Regions from separate parts of the Homo sapiens genome. Here all the other regions are linked to region 7. The links are contacts of gene promoters, found by promoter capture Hi-C in blood cells and fetal thymus (Javierre and others, 2016). All regions are on one chromosome and are shown on one strand. Each heading gives the region's core, a stretch centred on a gene start or on the middle of the fragment in contact. The rest is flanking DNA. Distances are from core to core; before and after follow the strand shown.

The links. Contacts are between HindIII fragments. The CHiCAGO score rates a contact against its expected background, and 5 or more counts as called.
Region 1: a contact is called between a fragment that was not itself captured here and the fragment with the promoter of CEP290 in region 7, in 1 of 17 cell types (total CD4 T cells). The highest score is 5.2, in total CD4 T cells.
Region 2: a contact is called between a fragment that was not itself captured here and the fragment with the promoter of CEP290 in region 7, in 1 of 17 cell types (non-activated CD4 T cells). The highest score is 5.2, in non-activated CD4 T cells.
Region 3: a contact is called between the fragment with the promoter of NUDT4 here and the fragment with the promoter of CEP290 in region 7, in 2 of 17 cell types (non-activated CD4 T cells and naive CD8 T cells). The highest score is 6.7, in non-activated CD4 T cells.
Region 4: the fragment with the promoter of SNRPF here is called in contact with the fragment with the promoter of CEP290 in region 7 in 6 of 17 cell types (non-activated CD4 T cells, total CD4 T cells, naive CD4 T cells and 3 more); the score reaches 15.8 in non-activated CD4 T cells.
Region 5: a contact is called between a fragment that was not itself captured here and the fragment with the promoter of CEP290 in region 7, in 1 of 17 cell types (non-activated CD4 T cells). The highest score is 5.0, in non-activated CD4 T cells.
Region 6: the fragment with the promoter of CCDC38 here is called in contact with the fragment with the promoter of CEP290 in region 7 in 4 of 17 cell types (non-activated CD4 T cells, naive CD8 T cells, fetal thymus and 1 more); the score reaches 10.3 in non-activated CD4 T cells.

What each region holds. Positions count from the first base shown.
Region 1 is chr12:96,030,760-96,034,509 of GRCh38, reverse strand. The region is part of intron 1 of LTA4H (leukotriene A4 hydrolase); the gene reads left to right. Among named protein-coding and RNA genes, the nearest start is that of LTA4H, 3.0 kb to the left of the region's middle. RefSeq lists an enhancer at 1,459-1,628. The HindIII fragment of the contact is 363 bases long and covers 2,275-2,637 here.
Region 2 is chr12:93,471,668-93,475,943 of GRCh38, reverse strand. All of the region lies in intron 2 of MRPL42 (mitochondrial ribosomal protein L42), which reads right to left. Among named protein-coding and RNA genes, the nearest start is that of MRPL42, 6.3 kb to the right of the region's middle. The HindIII fragment of the contact is 4,058 bases long and covers 264-4,276 here.
Region 3 is chr12:93,375,311-93,379,475 of GRCh38, reverse strand. NUDT4 (nudix hydrolase 4) reads right to left here and starts at 1,551. Exons shown (of 5, transcript NM_019094.6): 1 at 1,055-1,551. The coding sequence starts at 1,153. LOC643339 (a long non-coding RNA gene) reads left to right here and starts at 1,740. Exons shown (of 5, transcript NR_040096.1): 1 at 1,740-2,039. RefSeq lists silencers at 920-1,219, 1,440-1,779 and an enhancer at 1,016-1,955. The HindIII fragment of the contact is 6,665 bases long and covers 1-4,165 here.
Region 4 is chr12:95,857,319-95,861,548 of GRCh38, reverse strand. It overlaps SNRPF (small nuclear ribonucleoprotein polypeptide F), which reads right to left and starts at 2,597. Exons shown (of 4, transcript NM_003095.5): 1 at 2,473-2,597; 2 at 256-381. The coding sequence starts at 2,475. It overlaps SNRPF-DT (SNRPF divergent transcript), which reads left to right and starts at 2,710. Exons shown (of 3, transcript NR_135014.1): 1 at 2,710-2,795. RefSeq lists enhancers at 2,275-2,324, 2,355-2,584, 2,705-2,764, 2,815-2,874, 2,273-2,888. The HindIII fragment of the contact is 4,587 bases long and covers 1,855-4,230 here.
Region 5 is chr12:95,212,921-95,217,158 of GRCh38, reverse strand. All of the region lies in intron 1 of FGD6 (FYVE, RhoGEF and PH domain containing 6), which reads left to right. Among named protein-coding and RNA genes, the nearest start is that of FGD6, 2.4 kb to the left of the region's middle. RefSeq lists enhancers at 1-28, 3,110-3,189. The HindIII fragment of the contact is 1,076 bases long and covers 840-1,915 here.
Region 6 is chr12:95,939,900-95,943,956 of GRCh38, reverse strand. CCDC38 (coiled-coil domain containing 38) reads left to right here and starts at 1,343. Exons shown (of 16, transcript NM_182496.3): 1 at 1,343-1,526. It overlaps AMDHD1 (amidohydrolase domain containing 1), which reads right to left and starts at 626. Exons shown (of 9, transcript NM_152435.3): 1 at 422-626. The coding sequence starts at 558. The HindIII fragment of the contact is 1,867 bases long and covers 864-2,730 here.
Region 7 is chr12:88,140,838-88,144,865 of GRCh38, reverse strand. CEP290 (centrosomal protein 290) reads left to right here and starts at 2,778. Exons shown (of 54, transcript NM_025114.4): 1 at 2,778-2,966; 2 at 3,532-3,660; 3 at 3,833-3,910. The coding sequence starts at 3,559. TMTC3 (transmembrane O-mannosyltransferase targeting cadherins 3) reads right to left here and starts at 2,559. Exons shown (of 14, transcript NM_181783.4): 1 at 2,379-2,559. RefSeq lists enhancers at 2,189-2,692, 2,499-2,938. The HindIII fragment of the contact is 8,380 bases long and covers 2,316-4,028 here.

The DNA of each region.
Region 1 (3,750 bases), core at 1,207-3,706, 7.9 Mb before region 7:
AAGGAGCCAAGTAGTTATTTCACTTAGAAAACACATACTTCTACAAACTCTATAACCATTGGAATGAAGAAAGGTTGTAGATTCATGGAATATTATTCAATGATTTTATCTGTATCATAACCTATATTTAATGTTCTTGCTCAAATTGCCCAATAGTATTTGGTTTATACCTTTCATCTGAAGGTACCTTTCACCTGAAGAATTTCATAGAAGATCATTTTAAAAATAAGAGGGTCATGAAAAGACAGCCAAATTCGGCTTCTTCACCAGGGCAGGATGCTACATGTGTATTTTACACAGTGTAGCATGGTGAAATCTACTAAAGCACATCAATAAGCAATCAGATCAGATCGGGCAGATAAGAATTGGTGGCTTTCAGGCCTCTTTTTCCTACTTGTGTAGGAAGGATCTGAATTTTGATTTCATTAATATGAACTAATAAGTACTTACTTTCTTACTCTTCATCCCTCAACATTTTGCTAAACTGATTGATTTGAAAAATAGGTCGATTCCTCTATGTACTGATAGGTAATCAACAAAAGTACCATAAGAAAGAAAATTAAGATATTATAAGCAGGAAGGCATCTATTTCCTTGCAGATCGCACTTTGGTCTTCTTGAAGTACCATGCTATCTTTAATTGCAGTAGCAACTTTGCCTGGGCAGGGCTGAAGTCCTATTTCAATGCAGTTTCAAAACTAAACACCGCATGTTCTCACTCATAAGTGAGAGTTGAACAATGAGAACACATGGACACAGGGAGGGGAACATCACACACCAGGGCCTGTTGGGGGTAGGGGCCTAGGGGAGGGATAGCATTAGGAGAAATACCTAATGTAGCTGACGGGTTGATGGGTGCAGCAAACCACCATGGCATGTGTATACTTATGTAACAAACCTGCACGTTCTGCACATGTACCCCAGAACTTAAAGTATAATAATAAAAAAAGAAAAACCACACTGTGAGACTGCCATATTTGAACATGAGTTTATACGTCCTACATTCAAAAGTACTAGAGATTTAAAAATTAAGCAATTCAGGACACTTGTGTTCAGATGTGAATAATTGCAAACCAAAACCGAGGTCGCTAGTGGAAGAAATTTAAAGAGGTTTTTCTAATATATGAACAGCAAATTCTTCCTTGAATCTTTAGCTGCAACATATATTTCAGAAGAAATATTCCAATTGGTTTAAGATATAATAAAACCTTGACTAAGCCCCAAACCCACTCAAAGCTCTTAGTTAACTGGAAAGTTCTTGTTCTTCACCTTTATTTAAAAAAATTAAATTATAAACTATGCTGATAAAAGTAAAAGAATGAAAATTTTTATAGCTTTTTGCTGCTTAATGTGACCTCACACTTACCTTTGTTTTGTAAAATAAAAACTTAAAAAATTTATTATTTGAAGTTCAGGTGTACTTCAAATGTGCAGGTTTGTTACATAGGTAAACTTGTGTCATGAGGGTTTGTTGTACAGATTATTTTGTCACCCAGGTATTAAGCCTAGTACCCATTAGTTACTTTTCCTGATCCTTTCCCTTCTCCTACCCTCCACCCTCCAGTAAGCCCCAGTGTGTGTTCCCCACTGTGTATCCATGTGTTCTCATCACTTTTGTAGAATAAAAACTTTATCTCTGTTCTATAAGTAAGCAAGAGTCAGGATGTTTAAATTTTGAAAAGAATGTCCCAATCTAAAAATCTGCTCATTGTTTTTACATTCCCCAAATCTAGAGAAAAGTAAGATTTTAAAATAGTGATTTCTGGTTGGCATGTCTGTTTAGCAAATTAGAGCCTGGAATTATAATAATGTTACATGTTATACAAGGAAGGCAATTTATGGTACAAAATAACATGTTTATAATTGTTTGCTTATTTATGACAAAAGCCTTAGACCAGGAGCTTATCCTTATTAATTAGTTAATTAGTATTTATTTAAAGTTAACTTGTTTCTTTCCTCCACTAGATTGTGGACTCTTGAATGTAGAGACTGTGTTTCATAACTCTTTGTATCTCAGCTTCCTAGTATAGTCTATGTCTGGCATGTAGAGGACATTCAAAAGTTTGATTAATGGATGATTTCAATTAGAAAACAGTGCCTAAGCTTAACATGGGCTACATTGATAATAGTGCCAGCTGTATTTCAGAGGTGAGATGGGAAGACCCAGTGCCAGTGCGGAATCAGGAGAGACGTCATGTCTTCTTTTCCTCTCCGTTCTTAGAGTTTGTGATGTTGAGGAATGCTGAAGGAGACTTAATCGGACAAATTCTAAGCTTTCTAAAATTCTTTTCAAGTTTTGGGTTATTTACACTGAAGTTTGATCCTCCAAATTTATGATAACTTTCATACATTTGTTTCTTTTCACTGAAACCTTCAGAAATGTTTAGGTGTTCTTTTGGTTAGTGGCTCAAGAGGTTTTAGTGCCATGGCCAAGGCAGAAGCCAGCAGTTAACAATAGGTAATTCTGACTGCAAACCATCTTGTTTTCACTAAGTAAATGTCTCAACTGGGAATCAAATCAAGGTGGTTTTTTAGTTTTAGCTTTGTGTTTCACACATAAACCTATTTTTTTTCATCATATCCCTGCACATAGCAAGTAGAAAATGTAAATTTAGACATCATAATGAGGCATAAAGCTTTTTTTAAAAAAACTCTGCTTTGTTCTAGAAAGGACTGAGACTGCTTGAAGCAACATATATAGTATAAGATTAAAAATAATTAAATAATTTGCAGGAAGAGAGAATAGGGATAGGAGAAACAAAACCCATGGCATAAAGCCCTCTATACTTTAAAAGAAGTGGGCCACAGGGTTGACATGGAGCTTCCTACCAGCCTGTGCAAAAAAGGAATCAGATACCTATTCCATGTCAACTGACCAGCTACTGAGAAGTACAACTGCTTTTTAGGGGGATGGAGGGTATTGTTCAAAGAGGATACTGTGAAACATATAAATTATATCCTATAATTAGTAGAGCTGTTGATGCTTAACACGTTTCTTAAAAAGTACTAAATCCAACTTGTCAACAATCCAGTTTTCTTTATTTTTCTTTCTTATTACAGTTTTTGACTATTTTTTAAAAATAACATCGCTGAAATTTGAAGGGGAATTTTAAAAAGTAGTTTGCAAATGATAGTTGAGACTTAGGACTTGAGATAATACAGCTTAAACATTGCATTTTTTGTTTTCTCTTGGTCTAGGACCTGCTTCATGCATTAATTGACACCTAGTGTTTTTGAGGCAGAGTGCTAAACCCTGGGAATACAGACCTAAGTAACATTCTCTGTTTTAGAACCCTTAGTCTAATGGAAAAAGAAATCATTATAATGCAGTACAGTAAGTATTATAGGAAAGGGTAGGGCCAAGAGCTATAACAGACACAGGGGATATCAAAACGTTTCACAAAAAATAGTTGTCACTATGACACTTCTGATTCTGAACAGATTTGGAAAGTTTAGCCAATATAGAAAACAGAATATGTTCCACTGGGAAATGACCCAGTTAATTCATCTATATAAGCATGTGTTATAAACACAAGATACTCAAATCAAGTTTTTAAAACAAGTTAGCTATTCTGAATAGCTATTCAGAACTAGGTACTAGACTATGAAGAGACTAGAGAGGTACTAGAATATGAAGGAGTAACCCTATTATTTTAAATAAGATATAAACCGTATCTTCTACTAATTTAGAGTAAGGATAACAAATGAGGTACCCCCAAAAGAAAGTACCCAGGGGCAGCTGGGAAATGGC
Region 2 (4,276 bases), core at 1,043-3,542, 5.3 Mb before region 7:
AGTGGTGCGATCTCTGCTCACTGCAAGCTCCGCCTCCCAGGTTCACGCCATTCTCCTGCCTCAGCCTCCCAAGTAGCTGGGACTACAGGCCCCCACCACGCCTGGCTAATTTTTTTGTATTTTTAGTAGAGACGGGGTTCGCCGTGTTAGCCAGGATGGTCTCGATCTCCTGACCTCGTGATCCACCTGCCTCGGCCTCCCAAAGTGCTGGGATTACAGGTGTGAGCCACCGTGCTCAGCTATAAACTGCTTTTTTAAAAGCTTGTGAAAGATTCTCCTATGTTCAAAAAAGGGTATTCTTTTAATATAAAGAAAAAAATTTAAAAGTAGCTCAATATAGTTAAAAGCAAGTTTTGAATGCACCTTGGTCAATGCCAAGAATCAAAGTCTCAACAGAGCCTCTTGTTCCTGTGATATAGAACTGTAACCTATCCTGCCTTCCCTATCTCCATGCCTTTACCATGTCCTCAGTATGGAATTCCAGCCCCATTTTGTTCAAATACCCCTCATCCTTAAAAGTCAAATATTCGCCAGGCGCAGTGGCTCATGCCTGTAATCCCAGCACTTTGGGAGGCCAGGGCAGGTGGATCACTTGAGGTCAGGAGTTCAAGACCAGCCTGGCCAACATGGTGAAACCCCCTCTCTATTAAAAATACAAAAAATTAGCCGGGTGTGGTGGTGCATGCCTGTAATCCCAGCTACTCGGGAGGCTAAGACAGGAGAATCACTTGAACCCGGGAGGCAGAAGTTGCCGTGAGACAAGATCGTGCCATTGCACTCCAGCCTGGGCGAGAGTGAGACTTCATCTCAAAAAAAAAAAGGTCAAACACTCTTCTTCCATGAAATCCTTTTTACTCTCCCTGCCCCCAAGGTTCTTCACAGAAGAAAGAGTTGTCTATCTCAGCTCATTGCAACCTCCGCCTCCCATGTTCAAGCAATTCTCCTACCTCAGTCCCTCGAGTAGCTGAGATTACAGGCGCCCACCATGTCCGGCTAATTTTTGTATTTTTGGTAGAGACAGGGTTTCACTATATTGGCCAGGCTGGTCCTGAACTCCTGACCTTGGGTGATCAGCCCAGCCCGCCTTGGCCTCCCAAAGTGCTGGGATTACCAGTGTGAGCCACTGCACCTGGCCATATTTTATTTTCTTGTTTGACATCACTGGGACCTTCCTAATTATGCATGGATTGGGTTAATATTAAAAGAAGTTTATAAAGCTAGGCATGGTAGCTCACGCCTGTAATCTCAACACTTTGGGAGGCCAACACTGCTCAAGGCCAGGAGTTTGAGACCAGCCTGGGCAACACAGTGAGATATTATCTTTAAAAACTATTTTTAAAAATTAACTGGGCATGGTGGCATGCACCTATAATCCCAGCTACTCAGGTGGCTGAAGCTGAAGGATCACTTGAACCTAGGAGGGTGAGGCTGCAATGAACTATGATTGTGCCACTGAATTCTAGCCTGGGCAACAGAGCAAAATCGTTTCTAAAAAAATTAAAACTGGTGGGGTGTGGTGGCTCACTCCTGTAATCTCAGCGCTTTGCGAGGCCAAGGCAGCAGGATCGCTTGATCCAGCAGTTCAAGACCAGCCTGGGCAACATAGTTGGGTCATATAGTGAGACCCCATCTCTATTAAAAAAAAATTAATAATAAAAAATATAAATTAAAAAAAAACAATTTTGTATCTCTGAATATAAACCAACTAGATGATATACATTTTCACTGAAAGAAACATGACTGGGTGACAGAATTAAGTGTTCTGAAATATGCAGACAAGAAAACTCAAGACAACAGTATTTTAGTTAACAAGAAACTCAGTAAAATTTCTACTCTGTGTTTACACAGACATTTGTTTGTGCCCTCATGACACACTTATCACATTCTGCCTCATATTCTGGGCATTCTTAGTGTTGCTAGATGTCTGTTTCACCTACAAGTCTAAATAAGTTCCTTAAGGCCAGGAACTGTACCTTGTTCATTACTGTGTCCCCTATAGTGCCTACACATTAAAAAGTGATTGCCGAACTGCCTCTCAAATGTTTCTGCATAACTGATGTTTGAAAAATTCATAAGGACTGGGCATGGTGGCTCACGCCTGTAATACCAGAACTTTGGGAGGCTGAGGCAGGTGGATCACTTGAACCCAGGAGTTCAAGACCAGCCTGGGCAACATGGCAAAACTCCATCTCTACAAAGAAATACAAAACATAGGCCAAGCGTAGTGGCTCACGTCTGTAATCCCAGCACTTTGGGAGGCTGAGGTGGGTAGATCACCTGAGGTCAGGAGATCGAGACCAGCCTGATCAACATGGTGGAACCCCATCTCTACTAAAAATACAAAATTAGCCGGGCATGGTGGTACATGCCTATAATCCCAGCTACTTGGGAGGCTGAGGCAGGAAAATCACTTGAATCTGGGAGGCGGAGGTTGCAGTGGGCCAAGATCATGCCATTGCACTCCAGCCTGGGCAACAAGAGTGAAACTCCATCTCAAAAATAAATAAATAAATAAATAACCAGACATGGTAGTACACATCTGTAGTCTTGCTTACTTGGGAGACTGAGATAGCAGGATCACCTGAGCCCAGGGAGGTCGAAGCTGCAGTGGGCCAAGACTGCACCACTGCACTCCAGCCTGGGCAACAGAGTGAGACTTCACCTTGAAAAAAAAATAAGGAAACATTCATTACCTGATATTTTACCAATGGAAGTAATTCTGGATATAGAAGTAGCAGAAGCTCTAAATATATAATTAGGACCAATGCCAAAGTTAACAGCAATTAAGCTCAATGTGCCAAAAGAATTTCAATTAACAATAATTTCTGTAATTTATGAGTTATTCTTGTTACATATATATATTTAATTGCATTTTGAAAGAGCTATGAAAGCTAAAAGTTGTCCCATCTTCAAATGCTCAGTATTTTACCTTGCTACAGAAAAGGAAGTACAGTAGAAAGTATACAGGACAAAGTAAGGTGGGAGATCCAGATTTTGGTCACAGTTTTTGTTTACCAAATATGTGACCCTGGGTGAACTTATGAGGGCCACAGAACTCAAGTTTCTTTACCTTCATAAAGAGGATAATACTACATGGGCTACCAAAATCAAAGCTGTTATAAGGATCAAATGGCTTAACATGCTTTGAAAACTGTGAAGTGTTCTACACTCCCGGGCTGACTGACCATTTGGGAAATTTTAAAATATTCCTTCTAGAATATAAGGAAGGCTTTTTATTTTTGCTCACTGAACTTTCTTCCTTAATCATGATTTCGCTTTGCCTCCAATCTTACTGTCCTTCCCTTTTTTATTAAACATCAATAATAACAGTAATGAAACTTTCTTTAATTTTAATTTTTTATTTTTGAGACAGGGTCTCACTCTGTCTCCCAGGCTGGAGTACAATGGCACAATCACAGCCTCGAACTCCTGGGCTCAAGCAATCTTCCTACCTCAGCCTCCTGAGTAAGCTGGCTCCCTCCTGGGACCACAGGCGTGTACCACCTCGCCCAGCTAATTTTTGTAACTTTTGTAGAAATGAGGTTTCCTATGTTGCCCAGCCTGGTCTCAAACTTCAGAGCCTGCTTCAGCCTGCCAAAGTGCTGGTATTACAGGTGTGAGCCACCCTGCCCAGCCCTTTACTTTCAATAATAGTAGCAACAGGAACTTTGCAGTATAAGGGACTTTTCGGATATAAGAAGTTAGGTCACTGAGTATTAGGATAACTGATAATGGAATGATTTTCTAGGGTAACCTAATTCTTAGTTAACTAGATATTTTGAGAGTTAACTCTAAACCATTCAGATTACTTGAACAAACACTGATAGATCTCCTATCATGAATGAGAGGCCCCAGGGACACCAAAATGAATTAGATCCAGTACAAACTTAGTGGGAAATCCAGTGGGGAAAAAGATATATAAATAATTTTCAATTATTCAGGGACACATTAACTGGTTTTCTGATGGGCCTGTGTGAGGACTAATTGTTTCAAAACATAGTCTATGTAAAAACTGATTGGATGTGACTTCTCATTAGCCTAGGAGCTGGGTTCCTGCAAGGCAAAGAGGAATCTAAGAAGTAAGAGTAAGGGTCTTTCTCCCAATTCTCAACAACAAAAATGCTCCTAGATAATCAAAAGCTGATTGCAGTTTTGTTGTGACTTATTTTGGTTTATATCCAAAGTCTCTTAAGCAATGTCCTGTTCTATTTACTGAATTCTAAGTTGATTTTACTTTGAATATAATGTAATAAATGTTTCTATGTTTAGGGCCCTA
Region 3 (4,165 bases), core at 302-2,801, 5.2 Mb before region 7:
GACTAGCAGTAAGGAAGCCATTAAATTCCCATCTCCAGCCTTAGCCTAGTATTTTATACACGGTTGGTTATGAAAGCAGAACTCAGAATGTTAATTTTTTTCACCTATGTAATTTATCTTAAGAGTGGCAATACCAAAAGGCTACTATTGCCCTAAGCAAACTTCAACAGTTAGCCATTTTAAATAAATACTACTGAATTAAGTAAAAATCGCTCTCCAGGGAAACCCCAAGGGTCTCATTCTCAGCCCAATGCAGATGGGTAAATTATCCAAGAACGACTGCTCTGAGAACGAGAAAGGCTACTCCTTTCCAGATGTCAAGCCAGACAGCAAAGAACCCTTTATACATAAGCTGAGAGCTGGAGATTACTGTCTGAAAATGGCAGCTTTGCCCATCTCTAGTCCATCGTCTCCCTTTTGGCATTATTCCACATTTTTCACTAACCATTTTTCTGCAGTCAGAAAACTTTAAGAAGGGAAGGCCGTTTTAAAAATGAGGCATAATTATGCCAACAGCTTGCGGGTTCATGGACCCACAAGAATTGCCAAGACTAGACTCAATTCCAAGCACGAGGACTGTCTGTTACTCCACAAACATGCTTAGATCGAATCCGAGACCGCAAACGGCTGTAACATGGAAGGAAAATATGTAAAAGAGGCACAAGGGCTCTGCTGCAACACTCACGCCATTTCCACCCTCCTCTCGCTGAGCACTCGAGGTTTATCCGGCTTTCAACTCAATTCGCACGTTAAGATGGTGACTCCCGCTAGGCGAGACTTACGCGGCCCGGGACCTTCCCGGGGACCAGGCGCCTTCTCGAGTGCCCAGATGGAGAAACTGGGGCTGGGCGAGCCCCCTTTGTCTCATCTATCAGCCCAGAGAAAGGAAGGAAGAAGTGAGGGAGGAAAGGAGTGAGGGAGGAAAGGAGGGAGGGAGGAAGGGGGCTAATCCCTCCCAGCCCCGCAGCCTGCGCAGGGGCGGGGAGCGAGGGGAAGCACCCGGGCCCTAGACCCCGGCGCCCCGGAGGGCAGCGTGCGGCGCCGGGCGCCCTACCTCGTCCTCCTGCTCGCTCCGGAAGCACAGGCACGCCGCCCGCTTCTTGAAGCCCTCGCGGTCGTAGGTCCGCGTCTGGTTGGGCTTGAACTTCATCATAGAGGCGGGCTCCTGCTGCTGCTGCTGCTGCTCCGGCCGCCGCCGTGGGGGCCCGGCCGCCGCCACCCCGCCGGGGAGTGGGGGCGAGGGCGAGTCGGGCGCAGGAGCGCCCGGGAGCGCTAGTCGGTGCGGGAGGTGCGGCGAGGCCGGTCAGTCCCGGGGCCGGCGGCCGCTCCGACGCGGGCGGGACGGGACGCTAGCGCGGGTCACTGGAACCAGGGTGCCGAGATGAAAGCTCCGCCTCTGCCCAGTTGTCCGCCGCTCTCCATGGAGCCCGACTCCCGCTCGCCTCCGCTCCCTCCGGCCGTAGCCGCCAGGGGAAGGGCGGCTAGAGGCGCGCGCCACGCGGAGACAGTTGCGAAGACCCGCTCCCACTGAGCAGCAGCACCGCGGCGACCGCGCGCCGCCCCCTCTGCTCTGTTTAAATGAAGCCCACATGCGCCCCGCCTCCCCCGCGCGCCACTGCGCCTGCGTGCAGAGACCATTGCAATGGGGTGGGTGGGTAGGTGTGGCGGGGGAGGTAGGGGCGGGACCTCGGCCGCCCGGTGGGCGGGGCCGCGCGCACTCCCGGGCTGGAGTTCGGCGAGGCCTTGGGACTGGCGCTGGAGCCCAGCGTGGGATGACCGTGCCCCGAAAACATGCCAGTGAATGGAAAGAAGCCAAGGTCCCCTCCCTCCCTGCTTATACCCTCAACTTTGCCAATGAGGACCCTAAATACCAGCTGCACTACAGGGGATGTAACTACATACACCGTCACCAAAGTTGCAGCCTGGCCAAGAAATGCCAGGGGACGTCGCGGCGATTGCAGACTCCGCGGTGACTGTGTAGATACGTCCAGAATTCGCCCTTGTAGCGCGGGGAGAGGCGAGAGTGAAGGCCTAGAAAAGTTAAGACGTTAACTGTTTTTTTTTTCTTTGTTTTCACAAATGGGGGGTAGGCAAATTTCCTTTTTTTTTTTTTGTATTTAAATTTTTAATCTTTGGTTGGGGATGGCTTGTATTATTTAAAGAGTCAACTCTAGCTTAAACGTTTCTTTGAAGCTGTCTATAACATCCCCCACTTTGTGCCACCTTCCGGAAAGTATTAATACTGGCAATGGCTAATAGTTGCGAAATGGTTTTCATGTGGATCTCATGCTAAGTAACAGCGCAGCTGGATGCTGGGGCCACAGCACTAAAATATAATGGGATTTCTGCTATCTGGGAGCTTACAGTACCTTGGGGACTTGGAACAAACAACCTCTACACTTCAGAGTGTTAGAAGGGCTAAGATAGGAGCCAGGAGGCCTGATCTTAAGGTAGCTCGAGAAACCCAAACTCAGGCCATTCTGCCCTTCCACAGAGGCCCAGGTTGCTTGGGTCCTGACTTGGTTGGTTGGTTTTTCACCCCTTGAGGGCCTATTGTGTGTCAGGCACTGGCATCTAACAAAACCAGTCAGCCCCTGCCTCTCCAGGAGCGTAGGCACCTGAGAGCACACCGTCAAATATTAAATGATCACACGTGTACACGTAAAACTACAAATGTAATGGGCTCTAAGGTTTCAGACAAAGATTTGACCAGATCTGCAGTCAGAAAAAGATTATTGGGGCAGCAAGGCAGGAGCTGAGGGCTGAAGGAGGAGGAGCTAAATTGACCAAGAGCTTTCAAGGCAAAGGGAACTGGGATTTCTGCAGAGCCCAAAGTGGGAGGGAGTGAGGAGAGTTCTCAGAAATGAAAGAAAAGGCCAGTGTGGCTGCAGAGCGGAGGCAAGCTGGTTCCGCCTCTGGCAGAGGGGCCTGTGAGGCCTGACTGAGAGGCTGGGGACCACTGGAGAGCTCAGAGCAGGCACTGGTCTTTCTAGTCTCCAACCTCCTTTAGATTTGGGACTGCTGCATCTAACTCATCTTGTTACTCCCAGAGCCCAGCAGATGTAAGTTTGTAGAATGGGTTAGTGTTGAATAAATAATTTAAGGAATGAGGCTTCACCACAATTAGAAATCTTATCAAGACTGCGCAGAGATGTTTTCCAAGCCATTGATTTCTTATTGAAGGCACTTGAAATTTAACTATGTCCAGGATTTACAAACACAGGCAGAAAACATCTAGCTGGGGAGTCCGCTATGGCTAATATGTGATTATTATTTTTGGATAATTGGTTCACATCAATAAAGTTATTAATCCTGGCTTGGTTGCACAGGCTAGAGTGCAATGGTGCTGTTTCAGCTCACTGCAGCCTCCATTTCCCAGGCTCAAGGGATTCTCCGGCCTCAGCCTCCTGAGTACCTGTAACCACCACAGTTGCATGCCACCATGCCTGGTTAATTTGTGGATTTTTTTAGTAGAGGTGGAGTTTCACCATGTTGCCCAGGCTGGTCTCGAACTCCTGAGCTCAGGCGATCTGCCCACCTCAGCCTCCCAACGTGCTGGGATTACAGGCGTGAGCCACTGCACCCTCCTCACTATGGTCTTTTTTATTTTTTACTTTTATTTGTTTTATTGTGGCCTTTTAAATGACAAAGAGATTCCATTTCCTTTGTTTAAAACCCTTCAAAGTTCTGGTTTCTAGTTGTTGCTCAATAAATACTAGTTGGCTGAATATTTGTTCACTCAAGTCTTTCCCATTTATTAATTACATGAGGGAAGTCATGAATCAGAATTAACTGAGAAAAAAAAGGGAAGATGCTTAGAACCAAATCACGGAAGGGAGGAAAAACAGCAACACCAAGGCAGTGAGTGTGAGCTACTTGCTTCAGCTTCTTGGCCACTGGACTTAGTTTAAAAATCTTGGCTTCAGGTCTCACATGTACCAATTGCGCCCTCTCTCTCTCTCTCTCTCTCTCTCTCTCTCTCTCTCTCTCTATATATATATATATATATATATGAATGTTATATATATTAGTTATATATATATATAAAACTAATTACTACTATTTATATTTGCTTCACCTCTGAGCCTTGTCTTTTCTCACCTCTTAATTGAGTATAATATGATTTATGGTATCTTGCACAAGGCTTAACTAACATACCAGAGTG
Region 4 (4,230 bases), core at 1,348-3,847, 7.7 Mb before region 7:
TTATTATGAATCAAGTGTCTGAGCTCTTCCTACTTTAACTACTAGGAATAAAATCTGTAGCTGAATTCTGGTTTAAGTCCATGTCTTGTACCTAGTATATCACAGTATCCCTCCTGGCTTTGACTTTATTTTTGAATTTTGCCGTATATTTGTCAATTTAATTGTATGTATTCTTATTAGTCAGACTAAACCTTTGAGAAATAAGGTGAAGCAAAATAAATGCAATGTTATGACCTTTACAGCTCTTTAGCTTACCTGCATGTTCATGTAGCCATCTACAGATACCAGATAGCCCTTGTACTCCATTCCCCACTTAAGTTTCACCATCACTGGCTTTCCTGTTAGTCCATTGAGGAAAGGTTTGGGATTGAGGGGTAAACTCTGCACAAAGAACAAAAAAGGATCTAATTAATTATTTTTCCTCCCACCACCAACTCTCTTCTACCGAATCACCAATATTTTGTGGTATGCAAATGAAGAAAACTTTTGACTCCTTATTATTTTAGTACATAATTTTCACTTTTATTTGTTGAGAGTACCAGGGAAATTTAAATATCCAGTTAGCCAATTTCACCTTTAACCCATCAAAACAAAACACTGACTATTCACTTAAGATACACTGACTACCTACATCACTCACTGTTCTGAGCTCTAAAGAAACAAAGATAAAGGCACTAAAAAAAAAAAAAAAAAAAAGCGGGCCAGGTAGGGTGGCTCGTATCTGTAATTCCAGTAATCTGGAAGGCCAAGGCCGGGGGATCACTTGAGGTCACGAGTTCAAGACCAGCCCAGGCAACATAGTGAGACCCCCATCTCTACCAAAAATAGTCAGGTGTGGTGGTGCACACCTGTAGTCCCAGCTACTAGGGAGGATGAGGTGGGAGGACTGCTTGAACCCAGGAGCTCGAGGCTGCAGTGAGCTATGATTAGGCCACTGCACTCCAGCCTGGGCAACAGAGCAAGACCTTGTCTCTTATAAATAAATAAATAAATGAGTCCCTGTCAAGAAGTTGGAGATGGGGAGGGGAACTCCTCACATACAAATAATTATATTGCATGCTGCACTGTAGTAAAAGGAGATATACTAGGCACAAGGGTACCAAAGCAATCCAGGGGAAAAAGGAAAGGTTGCCTGAAATAAGTAATACCTCAGTTTTAAAGGATAAGAGTTTATTTCCAGAGCGGGAAAAAATGCTGTTCCAGGCAAGGCTAGCTACTTATGTAAAAGGAGGGAAGAGTGATGCAACAAGGTGGTTTTGGGGACATACAATTCAGCATTGTCAGTCAAAGCCCCAAATATAAAACTACAGAAGGAAGCAGAGGGCAGATCACGCTTGACAGTATTTAACTGGGGAAGCTAGGGCTAGGTCCTATCTGACTTTGTCAGTAGCACCGCCTCTTACTTACAGCAATTACTTAATGTCTATTTATTCAGCAAACCATTAACATCTCCAGTGATTTCGGTTTTTGCCCTCTTCTGCTCACTCACCAGTCAAACAAAGAAGAGAACTAAGAAACTTGGCTACTAACCCCCTCTAACATGAGCATATTCGGAGTGATCTTGATATGGCGATTACTCCAATAACCTAATGGGTCTCCAGTTTTCATTCTCCAATTTGTTATCCACCACAGTAACTATGATTTTTTAAAGTGCACATCAGATTGTCATATTTCTGCTTAAAATGATCCAATGGCTTCCAACCGAATCATTTTAAATTGATTTGGAGTACAATCAAAACCTCCCAATACAGCCTAAGAGGTCCTGCCCAACGCCTGCTCCTCCGATACCATCTCTTAACCACTATTCGCGCAAGTGGCTATACCTTTCTGTCAATTTCTCCAAATGACCAAGCTTTCTTTCCGGCCGCAGGTCTTATGCTCCTATTCCCTGTGCTCGGTACACTCCTCCTCCTGCTCTTTAAAGGGTCGTATTTCATGACACTTAGGCTTCGAGTTAAATTCCACCTCCTAGGGAGGCCATCTCTGACTAAGCCTCTAATGTCTAACGCGCACCCTCACAGCCTCCTGTCTGCATTGTTCTTAGCACTTATTATTTGCAATTACATACTTGTTATTTTTTGACTAATGTCTGTCTTCCCCACCCAAGTGAGTTAATCTAGAGCATGGCCGTATCATTACTTTCACGGAATGAAAGTGAATTCTGGAGTGTGGTTAAGTGGGAAGTGCAAATTCTCTTTGACTTTTACCCCGACCCTATAGCCCCAACTAAGAATACCCCAGGCCCGGATTCAAACAAAGAGAAGAAGGCACGGGCACTCCTAGGAAAAGAAAGGCATCGGGAGGAGCACGCGCCTCAGAAACCTAAAAGCAGAGTGAAAGGAGCTGGCGACAGGGTGCGCGGCGCCTCACGCGGATGAATGGGAAACGCGCGAAGGAACCAGCAGGCCCCGCGAGGCTGGTCTCCCTCCTTCTCTTTCTCCCCGCTTCTCCCGCCGTTCTCTTTCTCCTTACCATCGTAACCACGGCCGAATGTTGCAGGCTACTCTCTGCCGACCAGGCCGCCGCCCGTCCCTCGTGACTACAGCAGGTACCGCAGGTCCCGAGCCGCAGTTTCAAGAGAAATGGCCGCCAAACAGGACTATGACCTTTCACCTCCCACCACGGCCCTTCCTGCCTCTGTGATTGGACGCAAAGAGGTGCGTGCTGATTGGAGGAGATGGCTGGCCCAGTATCTCCTAGCAACCAGCAGCGGCTTGGGTTTGCGCCTTGCAGGCGGCGCGCGGACCTTGGGAAACCGGCTCTGAGCATCGCTGTGAGGCAGCCAAGGACTGGAGGCAGGCCGGTGTTTTTAAATGTGGTGTCCTTCCTAGAGGGCGGTCTGGGAGAGGCTGTGTAACGGATGTGACTTCTCCCCAACTTGGCTAATGGGGATTTACTTTGTCTTTTTACACCCGTGAGAATGTTCGGGGTCCCAGAGTTCCTTCCTCACTCTTCCAACAGGTTCCATGATTTGGGGGCGCCTCTGCCGCAGGCCCTTTCTACCTGAGTGTTCTCTCTTCTGCAACACCCGTTTTAACCCCTTTTAAAGGAATTGGGGGCTAGCCAGACTAGACTAGGGGCGGCGAAACGCACTGAAGAGAGTTGGATACAGAATTTCTTGCAAACGAGGTCGAGTTGCGTCTGGGATACGGTGTCATGCCCCACCCCCGCCCCACGACCCTGCCGGCCCCACCTTTCTTTTGCTTCGCCTGCAGAAACCCGCACGGCCTTCATACGTGCATTTGAAATTACCTAAGGGCGTAAGCAATATTTCCTCTGTCACGGATTAAAACTTTCGATGTAACGGTGTTATCTGAATCTCACTAGTTTTTGTCGTAATCCTATTGAGTTCGGGTCACTCTGATCTGAAATGCTAAATGCAGTTCTTGGAGAACACGCCCTTTGGGAAGTAACGCTTTTTTGCGGCCCTGAAGAGATGGATTTGGAGTTGAGGATGAAATGTTGGGTGTTGAGGCATTGTGGAGCAGTGGGCAAGACTTTGGAGGGGGCCTGCATTCGGAACCTGCGTCTATCAGGCGCGGCCGGTGTTGGGCAGTGTCTTAACCCCGAGGGCCATTGTTTCCTCGGCAGGAACGCGGCTTTAAAAACGGAACCATCCTCAGGGTGGTTGCGAGAATTTAACGTAAAACGGGGCTTGGCCTTGTAAAAGCTCAGTGTTTCACGTAAATGTTGAACACTGACCAGACAATGATTGTCAGTGTAGTTTTTACCAAACAGTTATTAGATTTATTCACCCTAAACTTCAGTGGATTTCTCCGTTTGTCTATTGTTTTATGAACTTTAAGTCTTTGTATAGACTTTGAGTTCCTACTATGTGTCAGGCTTTTTCAACAATCGTGGAAATCTTACCTTACTGTCTGATTCGGGGTGACAGCCCCGTTTAAGAGATGAGGAAGTAGGCCCAGCAGGTAACTGTTACCAGTTGAGGGTAGCTGTCCGAGTTCTTGGCGTTTTCAACAAAGAATTGGACAAAACGCACAAACAAAGCAGGGCAGCGAAAGCAGAGATTTATTTTAAATGAAAGTACACTCTACAGGGTGGGCACCGCCTGGTGCAAGCGGCTCAAGAGCATTGGTTATAGAATTTTCTGGGCTTTAAATACCCTCTAGAGGTTGCCCATTGGCCCACAACCAGTCTGATTGGTTGCGGGAGGGGACCAATAAGAGGTACTTTCATTTTTCAACTGCCACGCAGAAAAAGGAGGGGTTG
Region 5 (4,238 bases), core at 128-2,627, 7.1 Mb before region 7:
AGCAACTTTCTTCGCCGGGGTGGGCGAGTTGTGTGCCCCGTACCTTTGCCGAGCACCTCGGCAAGCGCGGAGCTAATGGGATTCGCTGCCGGCTTTCTCGTCTTTTCCTGCCCAGAGGGGCTGTTTGGAAACCCGGGATTTCTCGGGATCTCCCTTCCAAGGGGGACTGTGCTGGGGGCTCTGCACCAGGTGAAATGCGATGTGTGAAGGGCGTTCGCTCATCTCTCCAGCAGTGCGAGGACTTCGCCTTTGCATGTGAAAATAGTGTAGATTCCCAAGTTAATAGATCAGTTATTATAGGTAAAGGCAGTGTTCTCAGCGTGTTCAATTTGGCCACTAAGTGAGTCGCTTTCAACCTTGTATCTGCTGGTAAACCTTTTACCCATTTTAAAGAGGCGTAGACATTGTCATGTCCTGGTGGTTTTACCTCTGTTACCTGAGAAGCAGAGGAGTTGAGATTGTTGAGGTTTTTTTTTTTTTTTTTTTTTTGCTTGTCTGCACCCAATTACAATTATTTTGTTTGTTTCTACCTGATTAGGGTAAACAAAGCTTTATTTTCTGTCTGCCTCCCATAGTTCTTTCCCCTTCATCCAAATGACAAAGCCTCTATCTTTGTGTGGATTTTCAGCAATTCTAGACGTTGTGTTTCTGAACATTCTTAAGGAACAATTTCTGTTTTACAAAATAATTACCAAAGTGGTGTTACGTTCACTTCGTAAGTACATAGGTTAATTTTTAAACCAGAACTTATGTATTAAGTAGAGTGTTATGGGTTATTTTACGTTTTTGTCCACGTTGAAACTTTCATTAGAAATTTTATAGTGAAATAGTTTAAAGCTTCTTCTCAAGGTTACTTCCAGAATCAGCACTTAAGTATCAGATTAAATTTTCATTGCTTTTCTTGGCATTTGTTTAAAATTCTTGCAACTTGAAACTGTCCAACAGCACTCAAATGTTCTGATTTGTATTATTTCTAAAGCCTAGATATATTGTAGTGTTGCATTGCTCCCTGTGATCAGATTACAACAAACGAAACAAGAAGTTAGCCAATAGGAAAAGAAAGCAAGAAGTGGGTGTTGTGTGGGTCTTTCCTTTTTGATGTTATATGCACTTATATGAGATATCTTTATAAACTCTCTTTTCTTTGCCAAAGGGAGGCTTTATACTTACATAAGGTAAATTATTTTCATCCTACATTTCTGTGCCTTACCTTCGTTCAAGAAATTGATTTAAATTAAAAGTGGTTGGAAATTTTAAAATCCTTCCAGCCAGTTTTAGCTCTTTCCTTTTTGGAGGTGTCAAATGTATTTAAAATAACCGTGTCTTATATGTATCAGTTTTCAATTCCAGTCTTAACAGTTTATAAGGAACAGGCACAGAAGCATGTAATTTCACATTTATGTAAACCCAATTTCTAGGGCCCAGACTGGAAGTTCATGATTCTTGCATTTGAATTATCCTAAAATAATGCAAGCTATTTTTGTATTTTATCAACTTTACAATTAAAGAAATCCACAGAAATTTTTGTGGTGTTTAAAGTGGGACACTTCCTGTGTCTAGCCGAGTTGGTTGGTTTTTAGCATTGCTGGCTGAGAAGCATCAACTACTTTTTTGCTCACCCATCTGTTGGATTTATCATAATTCTTTCTGGTGTCTAGATGGGGAATATGGAAGAGAACTGGGGTTTTATTTCTACCCATTCTTATATGTATACATAGTTCTTACAAGCTGATTATGGTGCTTTTTGGGAACAATAGTCAAATTCATTGAAACGTTTAGGAAAGTTACTTGAAGTTAAGGGAGGGGATTTTTGCTTTTGAATCTAATCTGTGGTATTTGGAAGGGTTGGTTTAATTTAAGAAAATAAAAGGAATGTTGTAGAACATCTAGGTTATATGTATCCAGCAGAAAAGCTTGCTTTGTTTTTCTACATCTATAAAATAATCTGCCCTTAGTGGAGATTTCAGAATTATTTTAAGCTGTATATGAAAAAGGAGAGGCTGGGCGCAGTGGCTCAAGCCTGTAATTCCATCACTTTGGGAGGCCAAGGCGGGTGGATCACTTGAGGTCAGGAGTTTGAGACCAGCCTGGCCAACATGGCAAAACCCTGTCTCTACTAAAAATACAAAAATTAGCCAGGTGTGGTGGGGTGCGCCTGTAGTCCCAGCTATTCGGGAGGCTGATATGAAAATTGCTTGAGCCAGCGAGGCGGAGGTTGTGGTGAGCCGAGATCGAGCCACTGCACTCTAGCCTGGGTGACAGAGCAAGACTCCATCTCAAAAAAAAAAAAAAAAAAAGAAAAAAGGAGAGAGAATTATAGGTATATATAGGTATATATTTTGTGTCCTTTTGAACATGTACAGGTCACTGTCTTCATTGTCTGTGCTTTGCGTTTTGGCTGGTCCAGTAGCCAGAGAGTGTACACGTGAACCACAGCCATCTGTGTGTAACAGATGACGAGTATGTTTGTAATAGTTAGTAAAATGGTACTAGTGCTTTACTTTCTTACCTTATATTTCCCTGGAGCCAAACAGCTGTGTAAATAAAAGATTTGCTGCTTTGCTCTAAGAAGCTTTGGGTCTGACTGTTGATGCAGTATTAAGATCCAAAGGTGCTAGATTTATTGCCAAATGTCATGCACTTATTTCACATTGGAGTAGACCATAATATAATGGCTTATTATTTTTTGAGTTGTGTTTCTTCCAAAATAGAGCCATGAAAAAAAAATAATGAAGGATTTTGGATATTGCTCTACCAGTGACTTAGTTGAACACTTGTTCCTATTAATAATTAAGGAATTTTTCAATAATCGTATTGAAATTGATTCCTGCTAACTTTTCAAAATATTATTCTACATTAAAATGGATGTACATTTTTGAATGTGATTATTTTTAAAGAAGAAATTTTCTGTTATGGAGACATATTAAAGAGTATGTGTATGTGGCAGCTGTGATTATTCCCAGGCCCTGTTGTTAGCACTGGGATACATCAGTGAATGAGACAAAGTGCCTGCCCTTCTGGAGCTTGTGTCTTATGCTGAACACAGACAAAGGTGAACTGAAAAAACATCAACGCAGGAGACAGAGGCCACAGTACATGAGGTTCTTCTGAAATGAGTGTCTCAGAAGTTATCATCTCAGATTCCTATGGGCTTTAGAGGCCTGTTCAACTCCCCCATTTATAAGGAAGGAAAGTGAGGCAGCCAGGTCTGTACAAGGCCCACAATTAGGTTAGCCAGCTCCCTGAGTTATGTCTGTGACTTCCTTCAATACACAGTTAACTAACAATGGCAAGCCCAAGTTCACAGTTATTAATTGAATTCAGTGAGTATGCGTTGAGGGTTTTATGTACGTAATAGGACTTTGCTATATTTATTGGGAATCAACTCCAGCACATACGTAGTTAATTGAATTTCTGTGACACTAGAACAGGAATTTATATCTCTTGGAAGCAGATTTGTGTACAAAACGCATTTTTTAAAAAGAGTAAAATTGGTACCAGGGATTTTTTAAAAATGATATTTAAATGACCCTAAAGCTTCTGACAAGGTTCTAAGATACGGAAAGTAAAAGATTAATTTGATGAGAGATGAAGTTTTCTTCCAACTGTGGTAAAATAGCACATAAGATAAATTTACCGTCTTACTCATTTTTAAGTGTATAGTTCAGAAGTGTTAAGTACATTCACATGGTACATCCAATCTCAAGAACTCTTCATTTTACGAAACTATTTTTTTTGTTTTCATGGAGACGGAGTCTTACTGTGTTGCCCAGGCTGGTCTCCAATTCCTGAGCTCAAGCAATCCTCCCACCTTGCCCTCCCAAGGTGCTGGGATTACAGGCATGAGCCACTATGCCAGGCTGCCAAAACTAATTTTTAAAAAATTCTTTGAAAAATCCCAGAGGTAGGATGTTTTGATAATGGTTACAGAAATAAAATCAACTTGACAGTCGTACTGAGTAAGATGGGCCGTTGGGAAGAGGCCTAAGGCATTCATACTTTCTCTTAAGACTTGACTTACTAAATGGAGGGTTTGATTTAATAGACATTTACAACTAGGTTTCTCACTAGGATTTGAAGGGTTTTTCAGTTATTTTCTGCCTAAAAAAAACTCAGACAAAATTAACTATGATGATTGAACAGCTAACTGAAATTATGTAGTATAGGAATTTGCATTATTTTGAAAATAATTTTTTATTGATGATGACATTATACCTAGAAATTGAGTGAGAGGACAT
Region 6 (4,057 bases), core at 94-2,593, 7.8 Mb before region 7:
CCCCAGTGATGCTGATTCTAAAATTCTAGGGATAGGGAGTGGGGGACGCAGGTGGAATCAGAAATCTGCCGTAAGAATAAAATAACCACAGGCCACCCTGACAAAGGTGGTCTTCTGGCCTCCCTTTAAGAAGCACTGGGGAGGACCTCAACCCCTTCTGATGGTTGGACAGTGATATTTTACCAGCAGAGGCAGGACCCTGATGCGTTCCAATGGGGTGTTCCTCTCTGAGCTCTTTGGACGGAATGACAACCCCAAGCAGCAGAGCGTGTTAGCAACAGGTACCCCAAAGGCTGGCTTGCCCGTGTATCTCTGTGCAGGGACGCTTTCACGGCGTTGTTTCCCTCCAGAGTGCACAGTGAGAGGAAGAGCGGCCAGCTCCGCCCGTGGCGGTCCCCACCCTGCGCGCCCGGCCACTTACTTGCCCACCACCAGGCTGGCGCCTTCCAGCACCGCCAGGCTGCGCAGCGCATCCCGCGCCAGGAAGCGCTCGCCGCGGGCGCACACCAGCACCACTTGCTGCGCGTTCTCCAGCAGGAGGCTGTGGCCGCTTGCCATGTCGCCTCGCGCCGAGGGTCGCCGGGAGGCCACCGGGCTCGGGCCACCGGCAGGACTCAGTGGAGGACGAAAAGCCGCAGCCTGCGCTGTCCGGGGCTGGGAGGGTGGGGCGGGGGCGGGCGCTCGCAGCCGCTGCCCTTTGCTCGCCTCCCCCAACCACAGCAACGGGGGCGGTAATCATTGCAAGAATGGCAACGAGTAATAAACCTGATGAGGAATCCTCTCTTTTTTGGTCGTCTTGTCCCATCCCGAGTAAACGAGATGGAGACTAGTGTCCCTACTTTTCAGATAAGGAAACTTAAGCTTGGTCACCCCGAGAGATCAAAGTGAGCTGTGTGGATCACGTGGTATGTGGAAGCGCGTCAAGGGTTGGCTGGGTGAGGGCACCCGGAGTGTTCGGGAGTGAGGGACCGGAACCTGGGGTAGAGCCCCGGAAGGGGGGCCATGGGGGAAACCTCTGCCCGGGGGGTTGGGGTGGGAGCCTGGAGATAGCGCTCCTGGAGAGGGCAGAGTAGGGGAAAGCTGTGCCCAGGGGCAGGGACGGGAGCTTGGAGGTAGAGCCCCGGGAGAGGACAGAGTGGGGGAAACCTCTGCCTAGGGTGCTGGGACGCGAGCCTGGAGGCAGAGCCCCGGGAGGGTACTGCGTGGAGGAAACATCTGCCCACAGGTTCTGGGGCGGGAGCCCGGGACGCGGAGGGCCGCGAGCCGAGGGAACCTGGGGGTGGGGAGGAGGGGGATGCGGTAGGGGAGGTGCTCCTGGGTCCGCGCGGGTGGCGGGTGCCCCGCACTTATCCGTTGGCCAGCTGCGTTCCGGGATCAGCTACCAGACGGTCCCTGAGATGACCGGGAACCGGGCTGGGGGAGGATAGAGCCGAGACTGGAGGATCGATTGGCACCTCCGCCCACTTTTCCCACAACGCCTTCCCGAACGATAGGTTGGAAAGGCTCCTGGATCCAAACTCGCTGAGGTAAAATAGGTTTCAGCTCAGTGTCCGCCCCTCCGCATGCCCCCTCCCACCCCTCAGCTGTGTCTGGTGGGCCTACAAGCAACTTGCGACCAAAATTGGAGACAGAATCAAGTTTATGGAAGATGGTCTGTGATTCTCAGCCTCGTCGCTTCCTGCTACCAATTGCTATGGAAACACTGCCAGGCCCAGGCTTTTGAGTCCTTAATTACTTGATTTCGTTTATTCATGTTTATCACAAGCTCTGTGTTAAGTCTTGTGGAACATACAAAGATAGGAAAGGCGCTTTCCCTGCCCAGTAAAGACTTTACAATAAAAGTGATAGATGTGGACACAAATAATATACTATAAAAGCAGACTAAGCCTGCAAACCCACAAAATATAAAAGTTAATTTAGTCTCATTAAAAAAACCTGGAACAGAAAGCAAACACTCCTTTAGATGACCACGATAAATAAGAATATAATTTAGCTTCATATTATGGCCTATAAAAGAGAGATCAGTTAGGAAAGAGAAAGATAAAAATTGGAAAATATATAGACAATGTGAGTGAAAGAGACCCTAAGGGTGGGGGGGAGGGGGCATCAGAAGATTATTCACAGCTCATATACACAATCACAAACAGGTTGTTTGTGTGTGTGTGTGCATAGCTTTTAAAAAGTTTATACATACATATATTTCTATGTCTTTAAAAAGAGAAGTAGAAATAGTGGGGAATAGAAACACATAAAGTCACTAATTCACAGAGAAATATTAAAATTTTCTATTATAAAATTTCTGCTGAAGACTTTAATCAGTTACATTTTGCAATTTTAGGCATATTTGCAGAACTATGCAATTGTATGTATAAAGGATGGGTTAAAATTATAGAAAAATAGGGTTCAATAAACTTGTCTTAGTCTGAGTTCTGTTTCCTATAAGCTGTTTGACCTTGGGGAATTTCTTTACAGTAATTTCTCGAAGCCTCGTTTTCTCATCCTCATCATAGGGAGAGCTGTTTCTACTTTATGGGCTTGTCTGAGTTTTAAATAAAATAAAACATAAATCACTTAGCCCAGTGCCCAGCTCTAAACAAGTAATAGGTATTATTACTATTATTCGTGTGTTTTAATCCTGCTATTTGTCTTCCTGGCCAATTAAGTTAAAGATTAGATTTCAGCCAATAGTATAGTTCCTCTCCTGACTTCACAGACCATGTACTTAAAGCTTGCAAGTTCTGGGTGAGTCTAAAAGAAATTATATTTCTTTTTCATAGGTATTTATGTTTGTGGGTGAACTGTGCATCTGATTCACAGTCCAGACAGACAACATTACCTGATAAGCTCCTGCAAACAGGAGGTTTGCAAAAGCAGAAAGGATGAGTGAATTTCTTTCCTTAGTTACTGTTCAGTAGTTATAGATGGATAAGGATGACACATTTTTCCTTGGTAATAACCAACATCCCGATAGCAGCTCTTATAAAATACTTTTCACATTATCTGACTTGTATATGCTGACTCCTTAACCCATCCTTCCTTCCTCTTGACCTCCAGTTTTTTTTTTTGTTTGTTTGTTTGTTTTTTTTCACTTCGCAAAAGGGGCAGTCAGAAATGTCAACAGAAGCGTCCATACTAAATAGCCTGACGCCAGCAGTGCCTTAAAGGTCAAGGTGAAAGTAATTTCCTCATCATTGTGCTGTGCTCTGACCTAGTCAGAAGCGGCAGCGTGCATCTAAGCAGGCCAAGGACCCAGTGGCTCCTGGCTTTTAGGTAAACAAAAAATTGCTAACTGTGATCTCCCCACACCATCCAAGGACACAGTTCACAGCCCCTTTTCCTAGTATTTGTCCAAGGTAGGCGGAGAGGAGGTGGGAAAAAAAAATGGAAGGGCATTGGGTCTGAGAGAACCAGTCTAAATCCTCATATGCATGTGAAGATAAACATTGCTTTTTATCTCACATTGAGATCATCTGGAAATTCGTTTTCATTGGGTTTTAGAGGGGGTTGTTGCAAAAAAACAAATAAACTGATTCGAATAATATCTGGTAGACAGTGTTATTATTCATTTTATTTAGAGTTGGTTTAGAAACTTAGGACTGGGCCTTATCAAATCCCACTCCTCTTTCCCCACTTCCCCTGGAGCTCAGAATGTTAAGACTCTACATGAAGCTGATTCAGGTCCCCCAGATTTGCACTGATATTGCTGGTAGACTCCTCTCCAATGACCAGGTTTCAAGAACTTTGATTGGGAGTTTCTTACAAAAAGTAGTTGTCAGTTATGCTCCCATTTCAAATGGCGGCAGTTGACAGAGTGGGCCAGAAAGAGGAAGGATCTGGACAATATCTAGTTTGAAAAAAGTATAAGGGATCACTTCTTCACAAGCCTACTATGAGCAGGCACTTTGCATATATTATCTGTGTTTGAAAATTGCACCAGGCCTGTAAGGAAGGTGTTATTATTCATACTTGATAGAAGATTCTACAGTGCATTAAGCATAATTCTCTAGACCCAAGAGAAAGAGTGGATAAGAGTCAGAGGCAGGAGTTAAACCTACCT
Region 7 (4,028 bases), core at 1,529-4,028:
TCCTCAAAAATATACAGTGAGTTATTGAACTAGAACCTGAGTTAAATTTCCTGACTCACACTTAGGTACAGACGACAATGCATAAAAACTTAGTTGACTTGTTCAAGCCAGAGCTGACTTGTTCACTGCTGTATCCCCAGTGCCTAGCACAGGAAACAGGATAAAAAATACTGTTAGAATGAGTTAAAGAATAAAATTTAGGTAAGATTTTGCTTTTAGTTACAATTGTCACTGAGATCTAGGTTACAATCTTAGCTTCATCAATTATTACTTAACTTCTATGAACTTGTTCTCACTTCTGAAAAATTAGAATAAAATTTACCATTAGAGACCAGGCACCTTGAGTTTATGAATGTGAGCAAGAGGGTGGTGGCAGAAGGGTAGAAAAGAGTAATACAGACAAACGAAACTTGTAAGTGAATACATAAAAATAAGTTATAACGAATGAAAAAAAAAACAGAAGAAAAGGTGTTAGAGAAAACAGACTTCTATTATGAAAACAAACACGCAGTAGTCAGCATAGTGTATGACATAACATGTGCTCAGTAACTATTAAATTTCATTCCTACCATTGTCAGAGGTATTTGAATCACAACAACTCCATCTTGAATAGGGGCTGGGTAAAATAAGGGTGAGACCTACTGGGCTGCATTCTCAGGATGTCTGTCAGTCATTCTAAGTCACAGGATGAGATAGGAGGTGGGCACAAGATACTGATCATAAAGACTTTGCTGATAAAACAGCATGCAGTAAAGAAGCCAGCCAAATCCCACCAAATCCAAGATGGCGAGAAAGGTGGGACGTCTGCTCGTTCTCACTGCTCATTATACACTAATTATAATGCATTAGCATCCTAAAAGACACTCCCACCAGTGCTATGACAGTTTACAGATGCCATGGCAATGTGAAGAAGTTACTCTATATAGTCTAAAAAGGGGAGGAACACTCAGATCTAGGAATGGCCTACCCTCTTCCCAGAAAACTCATGAATAACCCACCCCTTGTTTAGCATATAATCAAGAAATAACTATAACAATCCTTAGTCTACCACCTCCAATGGGGGTGTATGCACCTCCAATTCTTTCTTGGCGAGATCCAGGAGCCCTCTCCTGGGGTCCAGATCAGAACACCTTTCCAGAAACACCATCCCATGTTAAATTATGAATTAAGAACACTGAACATGAAGAATGTTTAATTCAAATTATTGAGTAAACACTTACAAAATTAAAATATAACATTTAATAAAAATAGCAAGATTGAGGAACAAGCACTTCACAAATATTGGTTTCCCAGAATGTCTGAGGAGGTGTATAGAAGTTAAGAATATGTCCTCCAGCCAGAGAGATCTGTGTTCAATCACACTATTTAAGTTACTTAGCTTCTCCAAGCCTCAGTTTCTTAACTCAGATGGAAAATGAGGACAATGTAAGCACCTATTTCACTGGATTGTAAGGAAGAATAAACAAGATAATGAATAGTATTTGGCATATAATCTTTCAGAAAAGTAGTAAAATTGTCATTCCTATAAATCTAACTAATGTCTTTAAAATTCATCTCACAAAATCAGTATCTTTTTATTTTGTACTGAGCTACTTATTTTACCCAAATTGGGGGTTTAAAAAGAAACTCATTACTTATTTTCGAAAGGAAAATTTACTGTCAAGTACAGTAATTTTTTTTTTAAAGCAGCGTTTAAAAAAAAAAAAAGACAAAGCACTGGTCCAGATAGTTGGAAATGTCATTTAGATTTAAGTCTACAGCTTCTTAGGAAAGTTAGGTAGAGATGTATCATACTCCAGCATGATTGTGAGCAGACGAGCAGGATGAGCAAAACTTGCACGAGTAAGAGTGGTAAACACCAGAGAAGGCGCTTTCATGGAAGGGCACCCTAGGTAACCAAGCAAGTGGCAACAATAGTACAGGTGAGTCCTTGGATCCCTTCTCTCTCCACCCCCGGCAGTGGTCCGGACAAGTACTAACCTCTCCTCTCTAGAGCCTTGACTTTATACTAGCTCCACAACCATCAAGCCCCACGATCCGCGAAAGGAATGGTGCTACAGGTAAGGCGGGCGGGGTCGGGATGCCGAGACCTCTTGTCAATTCTTCGCTCGCCCCCAAACGAGGATCACGGCTGCGCGGCTCTCACTCTAACTATCAAGACAGATTCTGATACTAAACAAGGCTAAAACTTTTTGTTTTTTCCTTCTTACAGAAGGCACTACCCTGGACGCCGCTTGCAAACGCCTGAAGAGAAGGCAGGGTGTTCCCACTTTTTCAGAATGGGACCAGGCCCTACGGCCCCAATAGCAGAAGCTTCTCTAACCCAGGACTGCTCCCCTCAATTCCTCCCAATATGCTGACCGACAGCTCGACCTCACCTGGGGGCGGTTCCGCCAGGGGATGGCTTAGGAAAACCTCAGGAAGAGCAGCCCAGCGAGTGACGCCACTGAAACCACAGTCATGGTCTACCTCGTTCAGGCCACCAGTTTGCAGGCGCCTGAGCCGCTGCTCCTCCCGCCTCTCGGTCCTTCCCCGCCGCCCCGGTACCGTCGCAGTCTTACGCGTTGCATGCCGGGAGCGCCTTACCTCCTCTTCTCAGGGACTTCAGTTCCCAGCATGCAGAAGCCTCAGGCAGAACTGCACTCTGGGATTTGAAGTCCTCGTTCCACGCCTTCTCATCATCCTGAACACCGAGCTCTGGGACTCCGGCGGAGAATCTAAACGTAAAGCATCACCCACGGTCGTGAACTGTAGGCTCTCCTGGCATCCGGGATCTTATTCTGGCCTTGGCGGAGTTGGGGATGGTGTCGCCTAGCAGCCGCTGCCGCTTTGGCTTGCTCGGGACCATTTGGCTGGACCCAGAGTCCGCGTGGAACCGCGATAGGGATCTGTCAGGGCCCGCGGCCGGGTCCAGCTTGGTGGTTGCGGTAGTGAGAGGCCTCCGCTGGTTGCCAGGCTTGGTCTAGGTGGGTGGATCCTTGTAAGCAGGATTAGCGAGTCACTCCACGCTCAGGTTCTTTAGCCTGAGGGCCCGTGTGCCACAGCATAGCTACCCCGCCCTTCCAGCCTCGGGTCCCTAATACTGCCTTGCTTCGGTTCCAGTTTCCGCCGCACAACTTCACTCATTCCAAATGTTAATTTCTGCGTTTTTTTTCAGCCCCAATTCTGTTTCTCCAAATCAGGGATGATTGTCGGCCTTCCACAGACCCTCGCGCTTGCCAGGATTAGGGTGTTCGCGCGCATTGTGGGTAGGGGTGTGGAGGAAGGGATCCAGAAATCTTAAGTATTAACTTAGATTAGTGTTAGCAAGGAAGCCGTCACATTTTATTTAGCCGGGACACTCTGACAGTTTGTGCCGACTGCTATTTTTGATCAAGGCTATTTTGCCCACTTGTCTATTTTGTGGCCCAATTGTCTGTTTTGCTAACATCAGAAAGTTATAATGAAATAATCTGCAAAAAATGTAAGGTGCTAGAAAACCAATAATACTGTGTACCTTGAAAATGCTAATATACACCTGTTTTGTTACAGAGGTGGAGCACAGTGAAAGAATTCAAGATGCCACCTAATATAAACTGGAAAGAAATAATGAAAGTTGACCCAGATGACCTGCCCCGTCAAGAAGAACTGGCAGATAATTTATTGATTTCCTTATCCAAGGTGCTTAATTGGTCAATAATAATAGATATATACATTAACTTATGATTAATTTATTAATAAAATATGAATTTATTTTTTTCAGGGACAACTATAATTGTCACAATCTGGAAGTGTTCTTATATTTTGCTTGAAGGTTATAAAATATAAAACAGTTGCTTTTCTGTTTACTTAGGTGGAAGTAAATGAGCTAAAAAGTGAAAAGCAAGAAAATGTGATACACCTTTTCAGAATTACTCAGTCACTAATGAAGGTTTGTATGTAGTAGGTTTTAACTATAGGTTTGGCTATTAGTGGAACTATAAAAATCTGTTCTTATATAAGGTAATCTTTGTGAAAATACCTGGTAATATCTACATCACCACTAAAAA